Linked DNA regions of Homo sapiens: region 2 is linked to region 1. Evidence: promoter capture Hi-C in 16 types of primary human blood cells and fetal thymus (Javierre and others, 2016). All regions are on one chromosome and are shown on one strand. Each heading gives the region's core, a stretch centred on a gene start or on the middle of the fragment in contact. The rest is flanking DNA. Distances are from core to core; before and after follow the strand shown. Region 1 holds the start of SLCO4A1-AS1 (SLCO4A1 antisense RNA 1). Region 2 overlaps LINC02970 (long intergenic non-protein coding RNA 2970).

What was found. Contacts are between HindIII fragments. The CHiCAGO score rates a contact against its expected background, and 5 or more counts as called.
Region 2: a contact is called between a fragment that was not itself captured here and the fragment with the promoter of SLCO4A1-AS1 in region 1, in 1 of 17 cell types (monocytes). The highest score is 5.8, in monocytes.

Annotation. Positions count from the first base shown.
Region 1 is chr20:62,664,245-62,667,871 of GRCh38, reverse strand. It overlaps SLCO4A1-AS1 (SLCO4A1 antisense RNA 1), which reads left to right and starts at 1,251. Exons shown (of 4, transcript NR_024470.1): 1 at 1,251-1,487; 2 at 1,862-2,012; 3 at 2,375-2,948. It overlaps SLCO4A1 (solute carrier organic anion transporter family member 4A1), which reads right to left. Exons shown (of 12, transcript NM_016354.4): 6 at 2,784-2,938; 7 at 1,297-1,492; 8 at 1-127. The HindIII fragment of the contact is 12,915 bases long and covers 256-3,627 here.
Region 2 is chr20:62,596,251-62,599,740 of GRCh38, reverse strand. LINC02970 (long intergenic non-protein coding RNA 2970) reads left to right here. Exons shown (of 2, transcript NR_184037.1): 2 at 2,523-3,490. Among named protein-coding and RNA genes, the nearest start is that of LINC02970, 5.4 kb to the left of the region's middle. The HindIII fragment of the contact is 1,373 bases long and covers 1,166-2,538 here.

The DNA of each region.
Region 1 (3,627 bases), core at 2-2,501:
CCCTGCGTGGCACAGTGAGAAGTACATGAGGCCGTCCGAGCCGCACACAGGGCTGTAGTGTTCTGGCTGGCAGCTGCAGGCAGCGTTGCAGGGAGCCGTTAGGTTCAGGTGGCCTTCGGGCAGGAGGCTGCAGAGGGGGGACAAGCGAGTGGTAGGGTCCAGGCCAGAGCCATGCTGGCGCCCAGCAGGCACAGGGTCAGCCATGGGGCTCGTCCCCATGCAGCCTGCATTTCGGGTCTACAAACTTGCCAAGCTTGCACCGCCCCCAGCACGCTGGGCACTCACACTGGGCACTGCCTTCTGGTGATAGAATGGTTTTTCCTCCTCACGCAAGGAAGGCACACCCATGCCCCCCAGCACCGTCCGCCTGATGCACAGCCCCTTTCCCTAGTTCATTTGTTTTTGGACAGGCAACACATTCATATGGATCAAATACAAACATTAGGAAAGAAAAAGCGCCAAGTACACAAAGGCAGCCTCGTGGCCCCAGCCCCACCCCAGTCCTCGGTTCTCCAGCCACAGGCCGGCTGTGCATTTGCAGGGGTCGTCTGCACGTACACGCCCCTCGGCAGTCACAAACATCTGCACTTCTCACTTGAATCAGAGCACACTGCGCCCATTGTCCAACTCCTTCCTTTTTCCCACTTCACAGTATGTCTTGGCAGTGGCCCAGGATGAGCTTCCTCCACTCCTTTGTGGGCAGGGCCTCTGTTGTGAGGACAGCGTAGTGACCCCGTCCACCCTGATGACTCTTAGGTTCCGATAATGCCACAACGGCTGCTTTGTGCTTCTCGGCCTTGCACGGCACCTGCAGGTGCACTCCCGGGGCCCGCAGGGCAGGGCCGAGGTGCAGGCTACCTACGTGTATTTTGGATATTCCCTAATTGCCACCTGACCAGCAGGTGTCCCTCCCACTCCCAGCACATGGCAACTCCAGGAGCACATCCTGGGACACTTTTTATGTCACCGAGAGACCAGCCTCAAGGACCCCGAACACTAGGGCTGTTGTTCCATTTGACACAGCTACAGAGCAGAGTGCTGAGGCCCAGAGAGGCATATGACTGCCCGGGGGCACAGCCGGGACCCAAGCGCAGGCACTGCTGGGGGCTGGCATGGTGCCTTTTCACGTGGATGCTGCCGGGTGCCCTGCTGAGCGGGTGTTGCCCTTGCCGCTGTCCTGTGACGTAGCCCTTTTCAAAACCACCTCTCCCAAGTGCTGCACCACTCCTCCTCCATGCCCAGGGACCGCGGGTGCTTGGGGCCCCGACGCGTACCCAGGTGCCATCTGGCCCTCACCTCCCGCCGTAGCTGGCTGTGACGCCCGCCATGGGCACACTGGGGCAGTGCAGTGAGAAGACGAGGATGCCCAGCAGGCTGACAACGGTGCAGAACAGGCAGAACTTGATGACCGCGGAGCCCCGGAGCCTGAGCTTGTTCACAAAGAAGCCGCCCAGGAAGGTGCCGCCACCACCCGCTGGCACCACCAGGTACCCTGGGGAGAGGGAGGGATTCAGCCAGGGACTCAGGCAGGGGGCCGTGGTGGGAGAGGGTGGTGGATCAGCCGGGTCCACTTTACAGGTGGGGAAACTGAGGCATAGAGGGATCAATTCCTGCCTGCATGGCAGCACTCAACACCACACCTGAGTGCTTAGCTGTTGCGCTGATAGAGCCCTAGGAGGGACCTCTGTCCAGAGCCCACAGCGGGGATGCCTCAGAGGGGAAGGGGAAGGGGAAGGGGAAGGGGAAGGGGGAGCGGGGGGGCGGGGCGGGGCGGGGGGAGGAGGAGAGCCCAGAGTGCTCCAAGGTCAGCGGCCCCTGCCCCAGTGGGAAGCCAATGACTCCTCCACTGACCCCCCTCCAGGGCAGCCACACCCCCTCCTCCCCCAGGGGCCTCTGCCGAGTCCCTGCAGGCTGTGACAAGGACATTTGTCGAAGCCTGAGTGGCCACCAACAGTAAAAAATTGCGATTAGCTGGCATCTAGCTTCTGGGCTGACAAGTGAGGAGGGCACAGGTGAGGGGACAGGTGGAGAGGGGACAGGTTTGGGGGGACAGGTGGGGAGGGGACAGATTTGGGGGGACAGGTGGGGAGGCTCTCCAAGGGGCAGTAGAGCTGACCTCTGGGGGGCTGTTGAGTGTGGGAATGTGGGCTTGTGAGGTCAGCCCAGAGGGGCCAGGCCAGGATGGGCCTGTGGGGGAGGGAGGGGAGCCCTCATCTGATGCCCTCTTCCTGTCCAGATAGTGGACCCTGGAAGGGTAGAGCGCGGTAGATTGGCGGTGGTGGCCCACATGCCTGGCACCTCTGCCATGGCCCAGGGTACTCTGTGAACGCTGGCAGGAGGAGCAGCTCTGAGGAGGGGTCCCCACTTTCTGCAGACCTGCCCAGCCTGGGAAGGCCAGCCTGCCTCTGGCACCGAGAAACCCCCAGCTGCACTGTTCCAGGAGGTCCTGAGGCACCAGTGCCTGGCTCATGGAACAGCCAGGTCCAAACCCTTCCTGCACCAAGTCACAGAAGCCAAGACTAGGTGGCTAGGGGGTGGAGCCCACCGTGGACCCTTCCACCTACGGAGCATGTCCCACAAAGAGGGCAGGACCACCACTCTCCCGGCCTGTGGACAGAGTCGCTCAGCCCCCGTGGCGCTCTCCACACCTGCTCTGGCAGCGGGGGTGGGAGGGCACTCACTGCCATGTGCCCTGTCTGGGTCTTTCTAGAAGATGCCCTTGAAGACTCTGTTTCTGAGAACTGACATAAAAGCAGAGGACCCCCAAGATTCAGTTTTCTCACCAAACAAGGTGGCAGCTTCTGAGGCACTCAGGCTGAACTGGGACTCCAAGAACTTGGGGCTGAACGTGGACATGCCGGTGATGAGAGTGGCCTCGGTGGCCCCGGCCAGGCAGAGCAGGATGAACGTGGGGTTCTTCAGCAGGAGCCAGATGGAGCTGGGCAGAGGTGGGGGTGTGGAGAAGAGACTGAGGGTCAGAGTGGTGGGCAGAGGTCGGGGTGTGGAGAAGAGACTGAGGGTCAGAGTGGTGGGCAGAGGTCGGGGTGTGGAGAAGAGACTGAGGGTCAGAGTGGGCCAGACCCAGGGTGGGAGGAACCTGCTGTTCCTGAGGCTGTCAGCTCCCCGGTCTGATTACAAAGGGCCCCTGTTCCGACAGGGAGTAGAGTGGGGTGCAGGCAGGTGGGGGACACCCACACTTATTCCAGAGAAACCCAGGGGGCGCCAGGCTGAGCCTATGCCTGTGGCCCACTTGTCCTGAAAGCTGCAGTCCCTGATTAGGGAAAAACCTTATCAGTGCCTTGGCCAGAGCTTCAGCTCAGGTGGGGAGAGACCCCAAGTGACCCAGGACCCTGTTCCGTCACTGGCCAGCAGCAGGGCCTGAAAAAGGGAACTGGCTGGGGCAGGCAGAGGCCACCAAGTCCAGGACCGGACAGGCCCTGGGATAGGGGAATGGAATCACGGGAATGGGGACTGTGGCCAGTCCCCAACCGCCAGCCCCTGGGAGAAGTGGGGCAGGAAGCCACTGGGATTCGAACCCTCCATGCAAGAAGCCCCTGGGTAGACGGACCTGGCTAGCTTGGTTTGCACTTGGGGGCCAGTGGCCCTGGGGGTGGTGAGGCCTCAACT
Region 2 (3,490 bases), core at 603-3,102, 69 kb after region 1:
TGAAGGGATGATGTGACTGTGCACCACAGTCCCCATTTCAGGAGCACGATTCACCCCGGGACGCGGTCCTGAGACCGTCCCACTCTTTAGGGGCTGTGGGGGATGGAGGAGGGGCTCATGAGAGTCACCCAGACCCACAGTTCACCCTGCATTTTCCCAGTGGTCCTGGGCAGGCCACACTCTCGGCCTCCAAGAACTCGCACCCCTCCCATGACAGAGGAGCCTGGGATCAGGGAGAGGGGATCGTGTGCTCGGGGGCACCAGCCCCATGAGAGGACCTGTGTGGGAGGTGTGTGGTCCTGGCACAGGGCCTGGAACTGCCAGGGCAAGGGAGGGGAAGGACACCCAGCACTACTCTGATGTGCAAACCCTAGAGCTGCCTCGTGGCCACCCCGGGAGGAGAAGGAGGGAGTGTGCAGGGCTGGAAGGGCTGACAGCGCTTTAGACACCGTAACTCCACATTTGTGTTTTTCATGCTTGGAGCTTCTGTAGGAAGATGGAGGTTGGCCAAAGTTTCAGTGACTAAAAGTGTGAAATTCATTTAAGTCCATCAAACTCAAACTTGTGCAGGCACCAGGCAGTCACCCTTGATGAAGGCAGCTGGCCAGGCATAAGGGACACAATCCGCAGAGCCAACGAGACCAGAAATGATGCTGGACCACAGAGCGCGTGGACAGTGAGGAGCGGTGAGGCCTGTGCAGAGGGCAGTAGCCAAGCCCAACACAGCTGAGTGCAGCCACGCACAGCCCAGCCACGCCACACCACGCCCAGTCACATCCAGCCCAACACAGCTGAGTGCAGCCATGCCCAGTCCAGCCACGCCACACCACACCCAGCCACACCCAGCCCAACATAGCCATGACCAACCACACCCAACCCAGCCCAGCCTAGCCACGCCCAGCCCAGCTCAGCCGTGTCCAGCCCAGCCACGCCCAACCCAACACAGCCACGCCCAGCCCTTGGAAGCCACACCCCACTCCCCACACCACACCTGAATACAGGCCTAGTGTTACCAGAACTTCTAATTTTCCAACAGAAATGTGCAATTGGGGTCATTATGTTCAGTTTCCCAGTTTTGAATATAGTTTCAACTATCTTGACCAGCTCTACTGAGGATTATTTGACACAATCAACTGCACATGTAAAAGTGATGATTTGGAAAGCTTCGACCTATGTGCACACCCACGAAACCCTTCCCATGGTCCACGGTGAACCTCGTCACCCACAGCATGTCCTCCTGCCTGTGTCCTCCCACCCCTGTCCCCAGGAACCACCGATGTCACTACAGACAACTGCATTTTGCAGAATTCCATATGAACGAAGTCACATGTATACACGCCTTCTTTCACGCAGCATAATTATTTTCACGTTTGATTTTGTCATGTGTTTCAAAATTCCACTCCTTTTTATTTCTGCGTTGTATGGATGCACCATGATTTGTTCATCCAATCACTTGTTGGTAGACATTTTGGTTTTTCCCCCAGGTTTTTGCTATCACAAATAAAACTGCTATGGACAGTCATGCATAAGTCCTTGTGTGAACGCGTTTTCATCCCTCTGGGAAGAATTCCTAGGAGTGGAACGGCTGAGTCTCTGGTAGGGGTGTGTCTAGCTTAAGAACCTGCAGGACAGTTTTACAGAGTGGCCGAACCATCTTCCATCCCCCCCAGCAGTGTACGGCAAACTTTCAACAGCACTGCACAGCCCTAAGACGCACATGCCTGTGGGTGCTGCCCAGCCGTGGCTGCCAGCTTGTCTCTGGTCCAGATCACTTCTTGTTCAACAGATGGGGAGGCCTAGGGAGACCACAGGCCATGCCAAAGGTCATGCAGCAGCTGTCAGCTGAGCAAGGCTGGCAGTGGCCCAGGCTGGTCATGCCCCCTCCATGCTGGCAACTGTCTCCACCAAGGCACACTCTGGTGGAAGCTGGAGGCAGGGGACACTACTCTAAGTGGAGTCATCTGAGAGATGCACCGACCACACCTCTTCTGTGTTTCTATCCCCGAGCTCCCAGGGGCCAGGACCACCTGCCCAGGGAGTGCTCATTGTGCCAAGAAGAACATGACCCAGCACAGGGTCACTGCAGGTCCCTAAGCAGAAGGGCTGGCCCGGGCAGGACCCCAAAGGCTCGGTAGCAAGGTGCTCCTCCCGAAAGCTGTGATTCCCGGAGTGATCCGGGCTCCGGGGTGGGACCTCCTGGTGCAGGGTCCTGAGCTTCGCCTATGCCAGGCTTTGGAAGCATCCTCTGAGGGCCCCTTCGGAAGGAGCATTGGGATGAATTAAACAGCAAGGCAGGGCTCGCCTAGTGCATGCTCTGCTGACAAATGCGGTCATTTTTCTCGATTCTGGGAAAGAAGGGATACGGACTTGTTTCGTCTTGCCATGTCTAGAACTCCTCTCGGAGTCTCCAGTTAGTAGGGAGAAGGGAGTGCCGTGGTCTCTGGGTCCTGCTGGCACGTGGAACCCAGTTCTGCAGGGTCTCACACCTGTCCTCTTCTTGTCACCCTCTCTGTCTTTCTCAGCAACTTTTCAGAAGCTTCAGAAGAAGGACGCCGGAGAATGCCCGCCCGGGACTCCGAGGTGCCCTGTGCTCATGGATTGGTCCTCCTGGCTCCATGAGTGTGAGTGAGTGTCTGCAGGTCCCTGGCACAAAAGCTGCAGTGCTGAGCAGGTGGCTAATGGCCCTGGCTGGGTGATTTTGGACAAGTCACCTTTGCCTCTCTGGCCTCCATTGTCCCTCTGTCAAACAGGCCCCACGACAGCAAGCGTTGGTTATTGTGTCTATGGTCAACATCCCACCTGCCTTTCTGGGCAGAGACGTTTGGGAGCAGTGGCTGTATCCCTGAGCACGTCGTAAGGGCACTTTCCTGCATGCCCTGGCTGGAGGGACCTGTTGCTGGGAAAACTCCCCAGAGTGTGAACCGGCGGCGGCTCCACCATCTGGGTGCCGTGGGCATGGTGCATGGCGGGAAGGAGGCCGGCACCACAGAAGGGTGGCAGCTGTCCCCGGAAGGCTCTCCCCTGAGGGCGCCCAGGGCTCCACCGCTAGCCAGCCATCTCCTTGCAGTAAGGCACGTTTCCTCCAGATCCTCTCGGAACTGCCGGGAGTGGCTGCCCCACCCGCCCAGCTCTCCCTGGGTCCTGCCAGGCAGGGAAGCGTGAACCGAGACGGGCTCGGGATGGCTCTCAGGCCCTCCCTGCTCTCAGCACCAAGGGAGGCACCCAGAGACTGATCTGTGGGGGCAACGGAGACTCCGGGTCCCCCCACCAGGATACGTCCCCTTTCTTTGCATCTGATGCTGACACACACATACGAGGAGCCCAGAGGCAGAAACGGGACTCAGAGCCTGACGCTGAGGCTGGTGTGTGGGGCTGCCTCTCCCAGTGCTGAGGCTGGCGTGTGGGGGCTTCCTCTCCCGACACTGAGGCTGGCGTGTGGGGCTGCTTCTCCCGACGCTGAGGCTGGCGTGTGGGGCTTCCTCTCCCGACG